Regions from separate parts of the Homo sapiens genome. Here region 1 is linked to region 2. Evidence: promoter capture Hi-C in 16 types of primary human blood cells and fetal thymus (Javierre and others, 2016). All regions are on one chromosome and are shown on one strand. Each heading gives the region's core, a stretch centred on a gene start or on the middle of the fragment in contact. The rest is flanking DNA. Distances are from core to core; before and after follow the strand shown.

What was found. Contacts are between HindIII fragments. The CHiCAGO score rates a contact against its expected background, and 5 or more counts as called.
Region 1: a fragment that was not itself captured here is called in contact with the fragment with the promoter of OXGR1 in region 2 in 1 of 17 cell types (endothelial precursors); the score reaches 5.3 in endothelial precursors.

Annotation. Positions count from the first base shown.
Region 1 is chr13:96,082,165-96,085,535 of GRCh38, reverse strand. No RefSeq gene overlaps it. Among named protein-coding and RNA genes, the nearest start is that of HS6ST3, 6.3 kb to the left of the region's middle. The HindIII fragment of the contact is 2,821 bases long and covers 65-2,885 here.
Region 2 is chr13:96,993,031-96,996,166 of GRCh38, reverse strand. It overlaps OXGR1 (oxoglutarate receptor 1), which reads left to right and starts at 1,691. Exons shown (of 4, transcript NM_001346194.2): 1 at 1,691-1,869. The HindIII fragment of the contact is 5,494 bases long and covers 1-3,136 here.

The DNA.
Region 1 (3,371 bases), core at 226-2,725, 910 kb after region 2:
AGCCATGATAGTGGGTGCAAAGTAGTCATTGAGGAAATGACAGGACTGATTGATACTAAAAGCTTACTGGGATCCATGAAGAATGGATTAGGAAAGACAAAAGAGAAAGCAGAGAAATCAGTTAGGAAGTGGCTGTTGTTCTCCAGGCAAGAGATGGTGGGGACTTGGGATAGGCTGGCAATGGTGGGGAAAATAATTTACAGACACAAGTCCACGGGCCTAGTATGGAAAGATTTCACTTCTTCATTTTCAAATAACAAAATGAGACTTTGCCTTTAAGATTCTATTGCCTGATACAGAGGGAAATGAGAAGCATTCAACTTACGTTAATTCAGTCACTTCTGAGTTAACCTCTGTATCTTTGGAATAAATAGTCAAATTCATGTTTCTCCCCTCCCCTTCTTCTTTGCTTTTTCCTGCAGTGAGCTAAGCCCTTTCGTACTGGCTAAGGGAATTGTGGTCTGCAGGGGAGTTTCCTTTTCCTGCTGCTCCCCCTCACCCCCTCCATGTGCAGTTATTCCTACCTGATCGCAGGTGCAAGCCTGGATTTCTGCTGGGTCTTCTGCTGCCTTGTTAGAATCTAAGCTGTCATGTCCACATGCTCTACATCTTCCTCCACTGAACTGCGAGCCCACTTCTGTCTGCCACCTCAGCTCTTCTGTGGCCCTTTCTCAAGGGCCTGTTAGCATGGAAACCAGTGATGTTTAACCCCATCAGATGGAGCACTCATTTTTATTAAACAAATGTTTTGAAGTAATCCCTTTAATGATCTCAAGTTAAGCATCATAGATAATAGAATCTACCTACACACAATTTCTCAGAAATTAACATAATGCTCTAATTGTAATGTAAATGAAACATGAAAAGAAAGTAATTAATAAAACACTGTGTATTGCAACGTGTAAATGCTGAGACCTGACTACTGTAGACAACATAAAGAAGTTCGCAGATGCTTATGACTTTTAACTATCTCAAGTTTGGACATAGAGAAGTAAGAGCACAAGACATTCTTTTCAAGAAGCAAATAAAAGAGCAAGGCGCCTGTAGTCCCAGCTACTCAGGAGGCTGAGGCAGGAGAATGGCGTGAACCCCCGGGGGCGGAGCCTGCAGTGAGCCGAGATCGCGCCACTGCACTCCAACCTGGGCGACAGCGAGACTCCGTCTCAAAAAAAAAAAAAAAAAAATTGCAGAGGTGTTTGTGGACACCAGAATTAAAATTAGTGATAGGCTAAGTAAGAATAATTCTGACTTAAAAATTGACATATAAGAAAAAGGAGAGAAAAACCTTGGTTGAAGCAATCACACACCCAGACAAATTATAGACTTTTAGAGTGAAGAAATTGGGGAAGTATAATGTTCCCCAATTAACTAGGCTTTTAAAAAAATGTCTGGTCAAAATACTTCTCTATAACATAAAATATCTCGGTGGAACCCCGTCTCTACTAAATATACAAAAAATTAGCCGCGCGTGGTGGCGGGCGCCTGTATTCCCAGCTACTTGGGAGGCTGAGGCAGGAGAATGGCGTGTACCCAGGGGGCGGAGCTTGCAGTGAGCCTAGATCGTGCCACTGCACTCCAGCCTGGGCAACACAGCAAGACTCCGTCTCAAAAAAATAAAAATAAAAATAAAATAAATAAAATAAAATATCTCAAAAAACATAACTTGTATCTTGAAATCCTACTATACATCAAAGGATAATCCAGTTTCTGAATGTAGGGCGATATTTGCAAGTCACGTGAATGCAAGACAATTCTATCATTGCCCCCACCAAATAAATGCCAGTAATAAATAAATCATCGTGAGGTGCTGACCAAACACCAAACTGCAGACTATAAACTCTTTCCTAGCCATTAATTCCACTCCTAACGAGTATCTAGAAATCCCCCTATCTTTCCTCTGTCAAAAAAAAAAAAGCCAGTTTAGAAGACATAAAAAGACTAGGAACACACGTTTCCTCACTGTCCTTATACTTTGGCTCTTGATAGTAAAGGCACATTTTAGAATTTTTAAATGATGCCATTTTTTTCCCTTTGAAAAGTCTGATTTTGAAACCATTTGAAATCAAGGTAACATAGTAAGTGATAGTACTCAGATTTGAACCAGGTAGTCTGATTCCAGAGGTGGAAAGAAGTGATGGCAAGATGGATGTTAGAAGTCAAATCAACAGGATTTACTGAAAGATTGAATAAGAGGAAGTGAACAATGGATGAATCAAAGATGTTTCTCGGGGTGTCTCTTGAGCTCCTGGAAGCCTGATAGTTCCATTTACTAAAAAGAAGAAAATGAGAGAGAAAAAGTTAGGAGGTGTTGAGGGTGGGGAGCAGCGAGGGCGAATTTTGAGTTCTGCTTTAGGTGAGCTAGGTTTAGACTGCTAATGAGACAGCTAAATGGAGATATCAAATAAATAGCTGGATATAGGATCTAGAGTTCATGCAGTAATTCTAGACAGGAGATTAAAATGTGGTGGTTTTAATAACATAGGTAACATAATAGCAGTGAGTGCTCAATAAATATTTGTTGACAGAATCTGTAAAAGACTAAATAAGCAATTACCATGGTCCAAGAGAGAAATGAGACCTCAAACAAAAGGAATAGCAATGGAACAGAAGTGTACACATTTGAGAAATATTCCAAAGGTAGAAACAATAGGATTCAGTGACTAAGTAGGAAGGGGTGAGAGAGGAAGAAATTGAGGATGACTCAAAGTGTGCTAGCTTGGAAAGCTAAGTGAATGGTAAGGTCATTAATATGGGAGGCAAAACAGATGACTGGGCATGAAAATCAGTGTAGATGACTATTCTTTCTCTTAGCAAACTAGAATGTTTGTGTTTTTCAAATGGCTTTGAGCTTCAAAATGTTTACTTACATTTTAAGAAAGCAAGCTTTAAAAATACACTTTAATTTGTCTGCAGCAAGACAGATAACTTTAGTTTAATTATTACCTTTGGAAAAAAAATCCTAGGTGGAAACACATTTGGTAAAAACTGTTTTCTCTTTCCTAATGTTTTATATCACAAATCAGGATGTAATCCTCCTCTTTTCTACATTGGCCATGAATTTTATTTTTTTCTCTCTCTCTTCATATATGTGGATACATTTTTTAAATCATAAGAAATCAAATGTCTAAAGCAGGCTCTAAGAGATATTTTAGGTAATTGTTCTTTGCTTCATTAGGATGGCCTTTTTCAACAGCACAGAAAGATGATCCAGAAGCTTCTAAGAGCAGCTTTTGAATAGGACTCTTAGTTTTTTAGGTACTTACCACAGTGCTTTGCACTCAGTAGGCATCTGAATAAATGTTCTTTGAACATGTTAAGAAGTAAATATGTTCTCCCTTTAAATTGCCAAAAGAGTTTTCACAAAATCCCTT
Region 2 (3,136 bases), core at 442-2,941:
GTCTCCATAACTTTGACAACTCAGGCACCTCATATAAGCAGAATCGTACAGTATTTGTGCTTTTGTGGCTGGCTTCTTTTGTTTAGCATAATGTCCTCAGGGTTCCTCCATGTTGCAGTATGTGTCAGAATTTCCTTCATTTTTAAAACTGAATAATGTTCCATGGAATGTATACATCACATTTTCTTCATCCATTGATAGGCACTTGGGCTGCATCCACATTTTGGCTATTGTGAATAATGCTGCTATGAACATGGGTGTGCAAGTATCCGTTTGAGTCTCAGCTTTCAATTCTTTGGGGTATATTCCCAGAAGCAGAATTGCTGGCTTGTGTCATAATTCTATTTTTAATTTTTAGAGGAACCATTATACTTTTTTTTTTCCATAGCACCTGCACAATTTTAACTTTACAGGACTGGATATTTTTAAATGTCCTTTCCATGTCTAGAGTTCTAGGACCCAGTACTTGTTTTTCAAATAACCTCTTTAAGTCATTTCCTCGTTAGCTGGAAATCCTGCTCACCATGGAAAAACACTGGGATGTCTTTTACTTCAGAAAGCCTTCATTTGGGTTTAGTCCCCTCCCAGCCCCTTATTTACAAGTGGCAAGCCCTAATCATGTTTTTAATTTATTTCTTGTTTTCCTATAAGACATCAGCTCCTGGAAGCAAAGATTATGTATTATTCTTCAATATCTCCACGGTGCTTGACACAGAATAATCAAACAGCAAATGTCTGATCAATGCATAGGTGGGAACAAAACAGGGTCAACTATTTCCAGATGAAGAATTGAAAAAATGATTAAACATAGTAAAATTAGAGAACATTTTTTCTCCTAATGCAAAATATTTTCCTGGAGAGGCTGGAATTCAAATAATCAAAATGATAAGCATGATAATAAAAATGCCTAACTAGGGCTATCCCAACCATCAGCCAGGGCGGAATCTTTCCACCTGGGCCCTGGTGGGACACCTAACCTAACATTCTTGCTCCTGCTGGCTGGCATTCCCAGAGGATGGGCTATACATGGTGTTTGATGCCCATCAACATGGAAGTGCAGAAGAGACATTCAATGCCCGTCCATGGAAGAGCGAAGAGGGGCATTCTCCAAGCACCCCCATTCGCTAATACAGTGAACTCTTTGATGCTGGAAGAGATCTTGAAGTTCAACGGTTCGGGAGGCGCTAGTATACTGGACGATGTGGCTGAGGTTCAGAGAAGAGAAAAGGCGAATCCTAAGTTATGTAGCAAGAAGGCAACCTACTCCCTAGATCTGGAGATACAGACAAACGCTCTTTGCAGGGATAGAAACTATTTTTAAGCCACCTTGCTAAGCGCTGGAGGGCAGGGTTGTAATTGGATACAGGGAAATGACAACGCTTCAGTAAGTCGCCTCCATCCCACGCTAAATAAGAGGCACTGGACGCCTGGGCGACAGAGCGAGACTCCTTCTCAAAAGAAAAAAAAAAAAAAGAGGCACTGGGCTGTAGGAGAGTGGTGAAATTTCTGGACCAAGACAAGGCGGCCACAACCCTCCTGGGGCAACAACCCTCCCGCCGGGCTGGTTTTTTGGAACCTCTGCAAACACTTTCTCCTGGGTCAGTTTCCCGCCAAACCGGGATGGAGGATGTCCAGAGGTCCCGGGAGTGGAAGCCGCTGTCCCTGTGTCTACTGGGAAGTGGGCGAGGCGGGATGCTGCTGGCCAGGCTGCTCGGGGCGAGGACCCGAGAACACGCACTTGCTCGCTGGGCCTCGGAGGGGTGGGAGGGGCGGGGCGGTGCGCAGCCTCCCCGGGACAGGTCTGCGGTCCGGGACCAACTAGGCTGCACAGGCACGCTGGGCGCATGTCCGCCTCGCCGGGGCTGCCAGGTGAGCCGCGCGTGATCGGGGAGCGGGGCCCACCGGCCGGAGGGAGCGGGTATAGGGGACCCTGCCCTGACCCGGAGGGAGACGGGAGGTGCCCGAGGAGCAGGGGAAAGAGCACCCCCGCACGTCCCTGCAGCAGGCAGGGTCGGACGGAGCAGCGCCCCCTTCTTCTCTGGAGGCAGCAGGAGCACCCCAGATCCTGTGGCGGGAGGCGAAGTTTCATTTTAGGGAACAAAAAGCCCAGGGCGAGAAGACATTTGACTTGGAGAGAACTGGGGGAGTTAGGGATCTCTGATTTCATCTCACACTTTTTTTCACACCCAAGTGAGGGGTCTGGGAGGTGGGCAGGGAGAGTGCTTAGGAGACAAACAGAGTTAATCCCTCACCCCATTGATCACCGCCCTGCTGAATGTTCTCAAAGCTCACCCTGCATCGTGGTGGACTGTGTGGTGTTGGAAACGACCAAAGACTCTGCCCCACCCCCACCCCCAACAAGCGAGGAAAATGTTTCCCCTGAAATGTCTTTCTTCTCTGTCTTGTTTTTTGTTTCGTTGCTATGGATTCGTGAACTAGCTTGTAATGGTCTCTAAACCTCTAACTTGTATGTATAATATTTGCGTGTCCATGCATGCATTTTTCTGAAGCGAGCTCTCAGAAGTTGTATTTGTTTCTCCCGAAGAATAAATAGGCAAAACCATATCTTTGGGCTGCATCAACATGACCTCTTAATAGTCTTCAGGGAAACTGAGTTGCAGATTCTTATTTAACGAATTGGGGATTGGCCGGGTGTGTGGCTCACGTCTGTAATCCCAGCACTTTGGGAGGCTGAGGCAGGTGGATCACCTGAGGTCAGTAGTTCGAGACCAGCCTGGCCAACAGGCTGGTGAAACCCTGTCTCTATACAAATACAAAAAATTAGCCAGACGTGGTGGAACGGGCCTGTAATCCCAGCCACTCCGAGGCTGAGGCAGGAGGATCCCTTGAACCCAGGAGGTGGAGGTTGAAGTGCGCCAAGATCATGGCCACTGCACTCCAGTCTGGGCGACAGAGCAAGATTTCGTCTCCAAAACAACAACAACAATAATAACACAAACAAACAAAAAACAATAAAGTGGGGATTGAGGGAAGAGCCTTGAGGCTCCCAGAAGGGTTGGGGAGAAAGATTCCTTCAGGGACCAGGGAGGACAGCACTTACCCAGTCACAAATTTACCTGTTTTAAGAATTGGTCTCTTTTCCACCAGTATGAAGTACAATTAGTTTTCAAATATG